2 separate regions of the Homo sapiens genome follow, and region 2 is linked to region 1. The links are contacts of gene promoters, found by promoter capture Hi-C in human tissues and cell types (Jung and others, 2019). All regions are on one chromosome and are shown on one strand. The core of a region is centred on a gene start or on the middle of the fragment in contact, and the rest is flanking DNA. Distances in the headings are between cores, read along the strand shown.

What was found. Contacts are between HindIII fragments. The study calls those that stand out against the background at their distance.
Region 2: the fragment with the promoter of WDR74 here is called in contact with a fragment that was not itself captured in region 1 in 1 of the 25 tissues and cell types used here (IMR-90 fibroblasts).

The regions. Positions count from the first base shown.
Region 1 is chr11:62,378,161-62,384,261 of GRCh38, reverse strand. The region is part of intron 4 of ASRGL1 (asparaginase and isoaspartyl peptidase 1); the gene reads right to left. Among named protein-coding and RNA genes, the nearest start is that of SCGB1A1, 38 kb to the left of the region's middle. RefSeq lists enhancers at 986-1,551, 1,552-2,117. The HindIII fragment of the contact is 3,212 bases long and covers 1,751-4,962 here.
Region 2 is chr11:62,835,509-62,840,913 of GRCh38, reverse strand. It overlaps WDR74 (WD repeat domain 74), which reads left to right and starts at 1,324. Exons shown (of 11, transcript NM_001369450.1): 1 at 1,324-1,407; 2 at 1,486-1,592; 3 at 1,679-1,800; 4 at 4,878-4,953; 5 at 5,073-5,219; 6 at 5,382-5,405. The coding sequence starts at 1,344. RefSeq lists enhancers at 131-300, 931-1,070, 1,141-1,480, 1,541-1,660, 1,771-1,900. The HindIII fragment of the contact is 7,487 bases long and covers 1-3,340 here.

The sequences.
Region 1 (6,101 bases), core at 2,107-4,606:
AAGTGCTGGGATTAAAGGTGTGAGCCACTGCGCCCGGACTTTTTTTTGTTTTTGAGACGGAGTCTTGCACTGTTGCCCAGGCTGGAGTGCAGGGGTGTGATCTTGGCTCACTGCAAGCTGACAAACTACCAATGATGACTTAACTTAGTTATTATTGTGCATACCAGGGTCATTTGTTAATCGGCTGGTGATGGCAGATGAATGGCAAACACACACACACACACACGCACACACGTGCACACACACACATGCACACACACAGATGCATTTAATAAGTTATGTATTTATTCCATTAAAATATTTTTTCTTGGCTTCATTCCAGGGAGTACTGATTTTTTTTTTTTTTTTGAGACCAACTCTTGCCCTGTCGCCCAGGCTGGAGTGCAGTGGTGTGATTTCGGCTCACTGCAACTGGGTTCTAGCAGTTCTCCTGCCTCAGCCTCCTGAGAAGCTGGGACTACAGGTGCACACTGCCAAGCCTGGCTAATTTTTTGTATTTTTTAGTAGAGATGGGGTTTCACCATGTTGCCCAGGCTGGTCATGAACTCCTGAGCTCAGGCAGTCCACCCACCTTGGCCTCCCAAAGTGCTGGGATTACAGGCGTGAGCCACCAAGCCTGGCCTGATGATGTTCTTTTTTTTTTTTTTTTTTTTTTTTTTGAGTAGGAGTCTCGCTCTGTCGCCCAGGCTGGAGTGCAGTGGCGGGATCTCGGCTCACTGCAAGCTCCGCCTCCTGGGTTCACGCCATTCTCCTGCCTCAGCCTCCCGAGTAGCTGGGACTACAGGCGCCCGCCACTACGCCCGGCTAATTTTTTGTATTGTTAGTAGAGACGGGGTTTCACCGTTTTAGCCGGGATGGTCTCGATCTCCTGACCTCGTGATCCGCCCGCCTCGGCCTCCCAAAGTGCTGGGATTACATGCGTGAGCCACCGCGCCCGGCCCCTGATGATGTTCTTATACTTAACGTGACTTCTATTGACAAAATGGCAAAAGACAAGCTTTCTTGAGTCAACATAGTTTTTAGCAAGTTTTTAATTTATTTTAATTTGGAGAAGCTTCCTTCTGCTGAAGCAGCAGCAACTGGAATTACCAACAAAATTCTCAAAGCAGTACTTAGATTTAGAAATGAATACTGATTTTTACATTATCACACTCAAATACTATATGGATTTGTGGGGAAACGAAAGAGATCAGGCTGTTACTGTGTCTATGTAGAAAGAAGTAGACATAAGAGACTCTATTTTGTTCTGTACTAAGAAAAATTCTTCTGCCTTGAGATGCTGTTAATCTGTAACCCTACCCCAACCCTGTGTCGCAGAGACGTGCTGTGTTGACTCAAGGTTTAATGGATTTAGGGCTATGCAGGCTGTGCTTTGTTAAAAAAGTGCTTGAAGGCAGTATGCTTGTTAAAAGTCATTACCATTCTCTAATTTCAAGTACCCAGGGACACAATACACTGCGGAAGGCTGCAGGGACCTCTGCCTAGGAAAGCCAGGTATTGTCCAAGGTTTCTCCCCATGTGATAGCCTGAGATATGGCCTTGTGGGAAGGGAAAGACCTGACCGTCCCCCAGCCCGACACTGTCCCCCAGCCCGACACCCCACCCGTAAAGGGTCTGTGCTGAGGAGCATTAGTAAAAGAGGAAGGCCTCTTTGCAGTTGTGATAAGAGGAAGGCATCTGTCTCCTGCTTGTCCCTGGGCAATAGAATGTCTGGGTTTAAAACCCGATTGTATGTTCTATTTACTGAGATAGGAGAAAACAGCCTTAGGGCTGGAGGTGAGAGGTGCTAGCGACAATACTGCTCTTTAATGTTTGTATACATGCACATCAAGGCATAGCACCTTTCCTTATTTATGACACAGAGACATTTGTTCACATGTTTTCCTGCTGACCCTCTCCTCTCTATTAACTTATTGTCCTGCCACATCCCCCTCTCCAGATGGTAGAGATAATGATCAGTAAATACTGAGGGAACTCAGAGACTGTTGCCGGTGGGGGTCCTCCGTATGCTGAGCACCGGTCCCCTGGGCCCACTTTTTTTTCTCTATACGTTGTCTCTGTCTCTCCTGCCTCAGCCTCCTGAGTAGCTGGGACTACAGGCACCCGCCACTGGGCCCGGCTAATTTTTTGTATTTTTAGTAGAGATGGGGTTTCACCCTGTTAGCCAGGATGGTCTCGATCTCCTGACCTCGTGATCCACCGGCCTCGGCCTCCCAAAGTGCGGGGATTACAGGCGTGACCCACCGCACCCAGCCTCTTATTTCTTTTCTCAGTCTCTCGTCCCACCTGATGAGAAACGCCCACAGGTGTAGAGGGGCTGGCCACCCCTTCATCTGGTGCCCAACGTGGGTGCTTTTCTCTAGGGTGAAGGTGAGCTAGAGCGTGGTCATTGAGAACAAGTTGATGAGAGATTCCCGAGTACGTCTACAGTCAGTCTTGTGGTAAGCTTGTGCCCTCGGAAGAACCTAGGGTAACAATGGGGCAAACTGAAAGTAAATATGCCTCTTATCTCAGCTTTATTAAAATTCTTTTAAAAAGGGGGGAGTTAGAGTCTCTACAAAAAAATCTAATCACGCTATTTCAAACAGTAGAACAATTCTGCCCATGGTTTCTAGAACAGGGAACTTTAGATCTAAAAGATTGGGAAAAAATTGGCAAAGAATTAAAACAAGCAAGTAGGAAGGGTAAAATCATCCCACTTACCGTATGGAATGATTGGGCCATTATTAAAGCAGCTAATTTAGAACTGTTTCAAACAGGAGAAGATAGCGTTTCAGTTGCTGATGCCCCTGAAAGCTGTGTAATAGATTGTGAAGAATAGGCAGGGATAGAATCCCAGAAAGGAATGGAAAGTTCAAAAGTTCACATTGTAAATATGTAGCAGAGTCTGTAATGGCTCGGTCAATGCAAAATGTTGACTACAATCAATTACAGGAGGTAATATATCCTGAAGCATTAGAATTAGAAGAAAAAGGTCCAGAATTAGCGGGGCCATCAGAGTCTAAACCATGATGGCCAACTCCTCTTCCAGCGGTTCAGATGCCTGTAACATTACAACCTCAAATGCAGGTTAGACAAGTACAAACCCCAAGAGAATATCAAATAGAGAGTCTCTGTCATGGCAACGCCAATCCAAATACAGTATCCACAATATCAGCCGGTAGAAAATAAGACCCAACCGCCAGTAGCCTATCAATACTGGCCGCCAGCCGAACTTCAGTATCGGCCGCCCCCAGAAAATCAGTATGGACAGCCAGGAGTGTTTCCAGCACCACAGGGCAGGGCGCTATAGCCTCAGCCGCCCACTATAAGACTTTATCCTACAGCACCACCTAGTGGACAAGGTAGTGCATTACATAAAATTATTGATAAGGCAAGGAAACAAGGAGATATTGAGGCGTGGCAATTCCCAGTACCGATGCCACCTGGAGAAGGGGCCCAAGAAGGAGCGCCTACCCTAGTTGGGGCCAGATATGAGTCCTTTTCTATAAAAATGTTAAAAGATATGAAAGAGGGAGTAAAACAGTATGGACCCAACTCCCCTTATATGAGAACATTATTAGGTTCCACTGCTCATGGACATAGACTCATTCCTTATGATTGGGAGATTTTGGCCAAATCATCACTCTCACTGTCTCAATTTTTACAATTTAAGAGTTGGTGGATTGATGGGGCACAAGAACAGGTCTGAAGTAATAGGGCTGCCAATCCTCCAGTTAACATAGATGCAGATCAACTATTAGGAAAAGGTCAAAATTGGAGCACTACTAATCAACAAGCAATAATGCAAAATGAGGCCATTGAGCAAGTTAGAGCTATCTGCCTTAGGGCCTGGGAAAAAAATCCAAGACCCAGGAACCACCTGCCCCTCATTCAATACAATAAGACAAGGCTCTAAAAAGCCCTACCCTGATTTTGTGGCAAGGCTCCGAGATGCTGCTCAAAAGTCAATTACCGATGAAAATGCCCGTAAGGTCATAGTGGAGTTGATGGCATATGGAAACGCCAATCCTGAGTGTCAATCAGCCACTAAGCCATTAAAAGGGAAGGTTCCCACAGGATCAGATGTAATCTCAGAGTACGTAAAAGCCTATGATGGAATTGGAGGAGCTATGCATAAAACTATGCTTATGGCTCAAGCAATAATGGGAGTTGCTTTAGGAGGACAAGTTAGAACATTTGGGGGAAAATGTTATAATTGTGGTCAAATTGGTCATCTAAAAAAGAATTGCCCAGCCTCAAAAAAACAAAATATAACTATTCAAGCTACTACAACAACAACAGATAAAGAGCCACCCGACTTATGTCCAAGATGTAAAAAAGAAAAACACTATTAGAATTCTATCAAATTCTAAATTTGATAGAAATGGGCAACTATTGTCAGGAAACAGCAAAGGGGCCAGCCTCAGGCCCTGCAACAAACTGGGGCATTCCCAGTTCAGCCCTTTGTTCCTCAGGGTTTTCAGGGACAACAACCCCCACTGTCACAAGTGCCTCAGGGAATGAGCCAGTTACCACAATACAACAATTGTCCCCTGCCACAAGCGGCAGTGTAGCAGTAGATTTATGTACTATACAAGCAGTCTCTCTGCTTTCAGGGGAGCCCCCACAAAAAATTCCCACAGGGGTATATGGCCCCCTGCCTGAGGGGACTGTAGGACTAATCTTAGGAAGATCAAGTCTAAATCTAAAGGGAGTTCAAATTCATACTGGTGTGGTTGATTCAGACTACAAAGGTGAAATTCAATTGGTTATTAGCTCCTCAATTCCTTGCAGTGCCAGTCCAGGAGACAGGATTGCTCAGTTGTTACTCCTGCCTTATATTAAGGTTGGAAACAGTGAGATAAATAGAAAGGAGGGTTTGGAAGCACTGATCCGGCAGGAAAGGCTGCATATTGGGCAAGTCAGTTCTCAGAGAGCAGACCTGTGTGTAAGGCCATTATTCAAGGAAAACAGTTTGAAGGGTTGGTAGACACTGGAGCAGATGTCTCTATCATTGCTTTAAACCAGTGGCCAAAAAATTGGCCTAAATGAAAGGCTGTTACAGGACTTGTCGGCGTAGGCACTCCTCAGAAGTGTATCAAAGTACTATTACATTGTTTAGGGCCGGATAATCAAGAAAGTACTGTTCAACCAATGATTACTTCAATGATTACTTCAACCAATGATTACTTCATCTGTGGGGTTGAGATTTATTACAACAATGGGGTGCAGAAATCACTATGCCTGCTCCATTATACAGCCTCAGGAGTCAAAAAATCATGACTAATATGGGATATATACCAGGAAAGGGACTAGGAAAAAATGAAAATGGCATTAAAGTTCCACTTGAGACTGAGAGAAATCAAGAAAGAAAAGGAATAGGGTATCCTTTTTAGGGGTGGCCACTGTAGAGCCTCCTAAACCCATTCCATTAACTTGGAAAACAGAAAAACCGGTATGGGTAAATCAGTGGCCGCTACCAAAACAAAAACTGGAGGCTTTACATTTATTAGCAAAGGAACAATTAGAAAAGGGACATATTGAGCCTTCGTTCTCGCCTTGGAATTCTCCTGTGTTTGTAATTCAAAAAAAATCCGGCAGATGGCATAAGTTAACTGACTTAAGAGCCGTAAATGCCGTAATTCAACCCATGGGGCCTCTCCAACCCGGGTTGCCCTCTCTGGCCATGATCCCAAAAGACTGGCCTTTAATTATAATTGATCTGAAGGACTGCTTTTTTACCATCCCTCTGGCGGAGCAGGATTATGAAAAATTTGCCTTTACTATACCAGCCATAAATAATAAAGAACCAGCCACCAGATTTCAGTGGAAAGTGTTACCTCAGGGAATGCTTAATAGTCCAACTATTTGTCAAGCTCTTCAACCAGTTAGAGACAAGTTTTCAGACTGTTATATCATTCACTATGTTGATGATATTTTATGTGCTGCAGAAATGAGAGACAAATTAATTAACTGTTATACATTTCTGCAAGCAGAGGTTGCCAATGCTGGACTGGCAATAGCATCTGATAAGATTCAAACCTCTACTCCTTTTCATTACTTAGGGATGCAAATAGAATATAGAAAAATTAAGCTACAAAAAATAGAAATAAGAAAAG
Region 2 (5,405 bases), core at 75-2,574, 460 kb before region 1:
CGCGCCCGGCCTGGTTTCGCGTTTGATGTGTTAAACCTAGGTCGCGCTCGGGGTTTCAAGCGTGAAATCCTAGCACTTCGGGAGGTTGGGGCGGGCGGATTGGGTAATTCCAGCCTGACTAACATGGTGTGAAAAATCCCGTCTTCACTAAAAAACCAAAAGAAAAGTGAATCAGGCCTGGTGGCGGGCGCTCTAGCCTGAGAGACAGAGCAAGATTCCATCTCAAAAAATAAATAAATCTTCGCGTTAGATAAAGGGTTTACTTGTAAACTGGTAATTTGTTGCTTTTCTGTGTTAATCTCTAGGTAAAGTAGCGACTTCCCTCTCCTATTTACGCATGCGCTATTACTGTATTTCTACTGAGCGATGACTTTCTCTGCGTTTCTCATGTAGCATAGCACAGAGTACTTTTAGTTGTTTTTGTTTTTTTTTTTTGAGACGGAGTCTCTGACGCCCAGGCTGGAGTGCAGTGGCGCAATCTCGGCTCACTGCAAGCTCCTCCTCCCGGGTTCACGCCATTCTCCTGCCTCAGCCTCCGGAGTAGCTGGGACTACAGGCGCCCGCCACCACGCCCGGCTAGTTTTGTTTTTGTATGTTTAGTAGAGACGGGGATTCACCGTGTTAGCCAAGATGGTCTCGATCTCCTGACCTCATGATCCGCCCGCCTCGGCCTCCCAAAGTGCTGGGATTACAGGCGTGAGCCACCGCGCCTCGCTGTCCGCCTCTTGAAGAGTAAACGAGGCCGGGCGCGGTGGTTTAGTAATACCAGCTGTAATCCCAGCTACTTGGGAGGCTGAGGCAGAAGAATCGCTTGAACCCGGGAGGCGGAGGTTGAGGTGAGAGGAGATCGCGCCATTGCACTCCAGCCTGGGCAACAAGGGCGAAGTTCTCTCAAAAGAAAAAAAAAATCGTCGGTTTCCTTTTCCCATCTTTCTTTCGTGACTTATATTCCAGAACGAAGCCCCACACATCATTAATGATTTGAATCGTTTCTAAAGTGTTTCTTAAATCGTTTCTTAAATCGTTTGTTGTTTCTTGTCTAACAGTCCAGAACACATATTACATAATGGAGCCGGGAGACAGACTAGGGCTGGCTTGATCCGGCCACGCAGTCCAGGAAAGGTGCTTTTCACCCCCAAGTGCAAAATGATCAATGTATTCTTCCGATCTACATAAACAAGCACCTCCTGGTTTCATTTTCGTAAAGCAAAACAAGCATGGAAGCTTTACTGTTTCGGCTCTTCAAACTTCCAGCAACTACACTGCGCTGCATCGGACTCGACGCCCGCTGGTGACGCACACGCTGCGCCGGAAGTGTGAACTGTCTGCCTCCAGGCTTTGTCATGGCGGCTGCTGCTGCACGCTGGAACCATGTGTGGGTCGGCACCGAGACTGGGATCTTGAAAGGTGGGTGGCAGGCTCGGGCGTCGGGAAGTGCAGGGGTGCACTCGCGCCCCTGGCGTGACTGACGCCTTCGTCTCTCAGGGGTAAATCTTCAGCGAAAACAGGCGGCGAACTTCACGGCCGGAGGACAGCCGCGGCGCGAGGAGGCAGTGAGCGCCCTGTGTTGGGGCACCGGCGGCGAGACCCAGGTGAGTGGCCCCTGGTCGGGCCGGAGCTGGGGGCCTGGGGCGCAGCAGCCTCGCTCTCCTCGCCATCTTGCCCTTCTTTGCCGCAGATGCTGGTGGGCTGCGCGGACAGGACGGTGAAGCACTTCAGCACCGAGGATGGCATATTCCAGGGTCAGAGACACTGCCCGGGCGGGGAGGGCATGTTCCGTGGCCTCGCCCAGGCCGACGGGTAAGACCAATCCCCTCGCTAAACTCAGGGCCGAAGGGAGAGCGTTGATGCTCCCTGAGGATACTGGAATGATGGCGACAGGCAAACTCTTAGTGACACGGCTTTGAATGGGTGACAGGGACCTGGGTTTCTGCCTTATGTAGTTCATACCTGTAACACACATTTATTGAACACCTACTGAATTCCAGGCACTGGGAGAAGTACAGGGGCTGCCGGTAAAATTTCTGCCTTCAAAAAGTTCTCATCCTCTAAGGTTTTTCACCTGACTCCATTATAATCCTCTAAGTAACCATGGGCAAGTCATTTAATAGTTTTGTGTGTGTGTGTGTTTGTTTTTTGTTTTTTTTTTTTTTGGAGACGGAGTTTTCGCTCTTGTTGCCCAGGCTGGAGTGCAGTGGCGCGATCTCGGCTCACTGCAACCTCCGCCTCCCGGGTTCAAGCGATACTCCTGCCTCAGCCTCCCAAGTACCTGGGATTACAGGCGTCTGCCACCACGCGCGGCTATTTTTGTATCTTTAGTAGAGACGGGGTTTCACCGTATTGGCTAGGCTGGTCTCGAACTCCTGACCTCAGGTGATCCACCTGCCTCGGACTCCCAAAGTGCTGGGATTACAGGCGTGAGCCACTGTGCCTGCTTGTCATTTAATAGTTTTAAGCAAGGCTGGGTGTGGTGGCTCATGCCTGTCATCCCAGCACTTTGGAAGGCCGAGATAGGTGGATCACTTGAGGTCAGGAGTTCAAGACCAGCCTGGCCAGCACGGTAAAACCCCTTCTCTACTAAAAAAATACAAAAATTATCCGGGTGTGGTGGCTCATGCCTGTAATCCCAGCTACTTGGGAGGCCGAGGCTGGAGAATCGCTTGAATCCGTCCCGCAGAGGTTGCAGTGAGCAGAGATCGCACCAGTGCACTCCAGTCTGTGAAACAGAGCAAGACTCCATCTCAAAAAAAACAACAAAAAAAGTTTTAAGCATGCATTCATTAATTCATTATTAATTCATTTATATTTTTTGAGACAGAGCCTCACTGTGTCACCTAGGCTTGAGTGCAGTGGTGCATTCATGGCTCACTACAGCCTCAACCTCCCGGGGTCAAACGATCCTCCCGCCTCAACCTCCTGAGTACCTGGGACCACAGGCAGGTGTCACCCTGCCCAGCTAAATTTTTAAGTTTTTTATAGAGATGGGGTCTCACTGTGTGCCCAGGCCAGTCTCAAACTCCTGGGCTCAACTTGAGCTCAACCACCAACAAGGTGATGTAGCTCTGAAAGCAAAGATTAGGAAGGTGCTAAGTGGTTGGATGACTGGCCTTGCTTTCTTCCAAAGATGATGAAAGAGGGCTGTGAAGCAGGCTGCATAGGTTTGGTGGTGGTAATTCTGACAGGTGAGGTCTGGAAAGCCTGTGGGGGGGACTGGATGTCTGAACTGGTTCTTGAGGGATGGGTAGAATTTTGACTGGTGGAGAAGGGGATAAGGGTATTCTAGAAAGAGGGTACTGCCTGGGAGAGGCCAAGGACTGGAGGCATGCTACAGGGTACATAAATAGGATAAATAGCATTTGATTTGGAAGTTGATAACAAGGAAGCGTTTTTTTTTTTTTGTTTTTTGTTTTTTTTTTATATACGGAGTCTCACTCTGTTGCCCAGGCTGGAGTGCAGTGGCACAGTCTCGGCTCACTGCAACTTCTGCCTCCCAGGCTCAAGCGATTCTCTTGCCTCAGCCTCCTGAGTAGCTGGGATTACAGGCATCCGCCACCACGCCCAGCTAAGTTTTTTTTGTATTTTTATTAGAGACAGGGTTTCACTATGTTGGCCAGGCTAGTCTGGAACTCCTGACCTCAGGCAATCCGCCCACCTCAGCCTCCCAAAATGCTGGGATTACAGGCGTGAACCACTGCACCCGGCCAAGGAAGCATTTTAATACAAGATGAACACTATATTAGGTTGGGATTAAATGTAAAGGGCTTTAAGTGCTAGGTTGAGAGATGTGCACTTTTATTGGTGTTGGTGAGTTATTCATTTATTGTTTTTGTTTTTCTGAGAGACGGAGTCTTGCTCTGTCACTGAGGCTGAAGTGCAGTGGCATGATCTCGGCTCACTGCAACCTCCACCTCCCTGGTTCAGGCGATTCTCCTGCCTCAACTTCCCAAGTAGCTAGGACTACAGGCATGTACCACCACACCCAGCTAATTTTTGTATTTTTTAGTAGAGACAAGATTTCACTATATGTTGGCCAGGCTGGTCTGGAACTCCTGACCTCAGGTGATCTGCCTGCCTTGGCCTCCCAAAGTGCTGGGATTATAGGCGTGAGCCACTGTGCCTGGCCAAGTTATCAGTTTTTGAATAGGAAGTACCATAGTCAGCACTGGGAGCCTGTAGGAGTATGGAGGATGGATTGGAGACAGCAACTGGGAGACTTTTGCCACAGGTCAGGCAAGTCGATACAGAGCCCGAACCCAGCTAGGGAGGGTTGGCAGGTGTGAGAAAGAACATAGGCGCAGGCTGTGCAGATCCTGGGGAGAGACTTGCTTGGACTTCTCGGGAGGGATATTTTAAGCAAGAGACTGACATTTAGTGCCTGAAACTCAGAGCAAGGAACCCAAGAAGTTGGTGTTTGACTTTGACCAAGCCCTAAATTCAGACCAGCCCTAGTAAGCAACTCAAGATTCAGACAGACCAGTACAGCCAGATGCTAGACATAGCTGTGAACAGCAAAAGCACTCTGGAATATCACAGAGTTGATTTCTAGCTGTGGTTGTAACATAGCTGAGTGGCAAATTAGTTTCTCAGCGCTTCTATTTCCTCACTTGGTAAACCCTCACCCTGTTGAGAAAGTTGAATTAACAGATTAGGAAGCTGGAAGCTGTCAAGCCCTGCCTAGAGCCCAGTGACCTAGAGGCTTCCTTCTAAACTGGACTGTTAGTAGGGAATCTGGTTGATATGAGTTTGGGGCCTAGAGAATACTTTTATACTTTTTTTTTTCTTTAAACATTAGTCAACTGTAGTAGTAAGGAGGAGAGAAAGATTAGAACAAGGAGTTTAAGCACTTAAAAAATCCCAACTCTATCCTTTCTCTGCAGCACCCTCATCACATGTGTGGATTCTGGGATTCTCAGAGTCTGGCATGACAAGGACAAGGACACATCCTCTGACCCAGTGAGGCTCCCCTGCCCTGATGGTTGGGGGAGGTGGGCTGGGGTAGGTGCCTAATGATCACGCTGGGGAAGGGAGGATTAAGGACTCTGGAACGGACTCTTATCTCCTATTCTTTACAGCTCCTGGAACTGAGAGTGGGCCCTGGGGTGTGTAGGATGCGCCAAGACCCAGCACACCCCCATGTGGTTGCCACAGGTGGGAAAGAGAATGCTTTGAAGATATGGGACCTGCAGGGCTCTGAGGAACCTGTGTTCAGGGCCAAGAACGTGAGTGACAAGAGTGTGAAGGAGCTGTTCCTGAAGTCGAGGGAGGCTGAGGCCACTGACGATGCATTAGAGACTAGATGGACTTAGGGGGCGAAGGAGGGCTGAAAACAGGGGCACATCGAGCCCCCCATAGCCCTGTCCTCCATCTGCCCACCCCACCAGGTGCGGAATGACTGGCTGGACTTG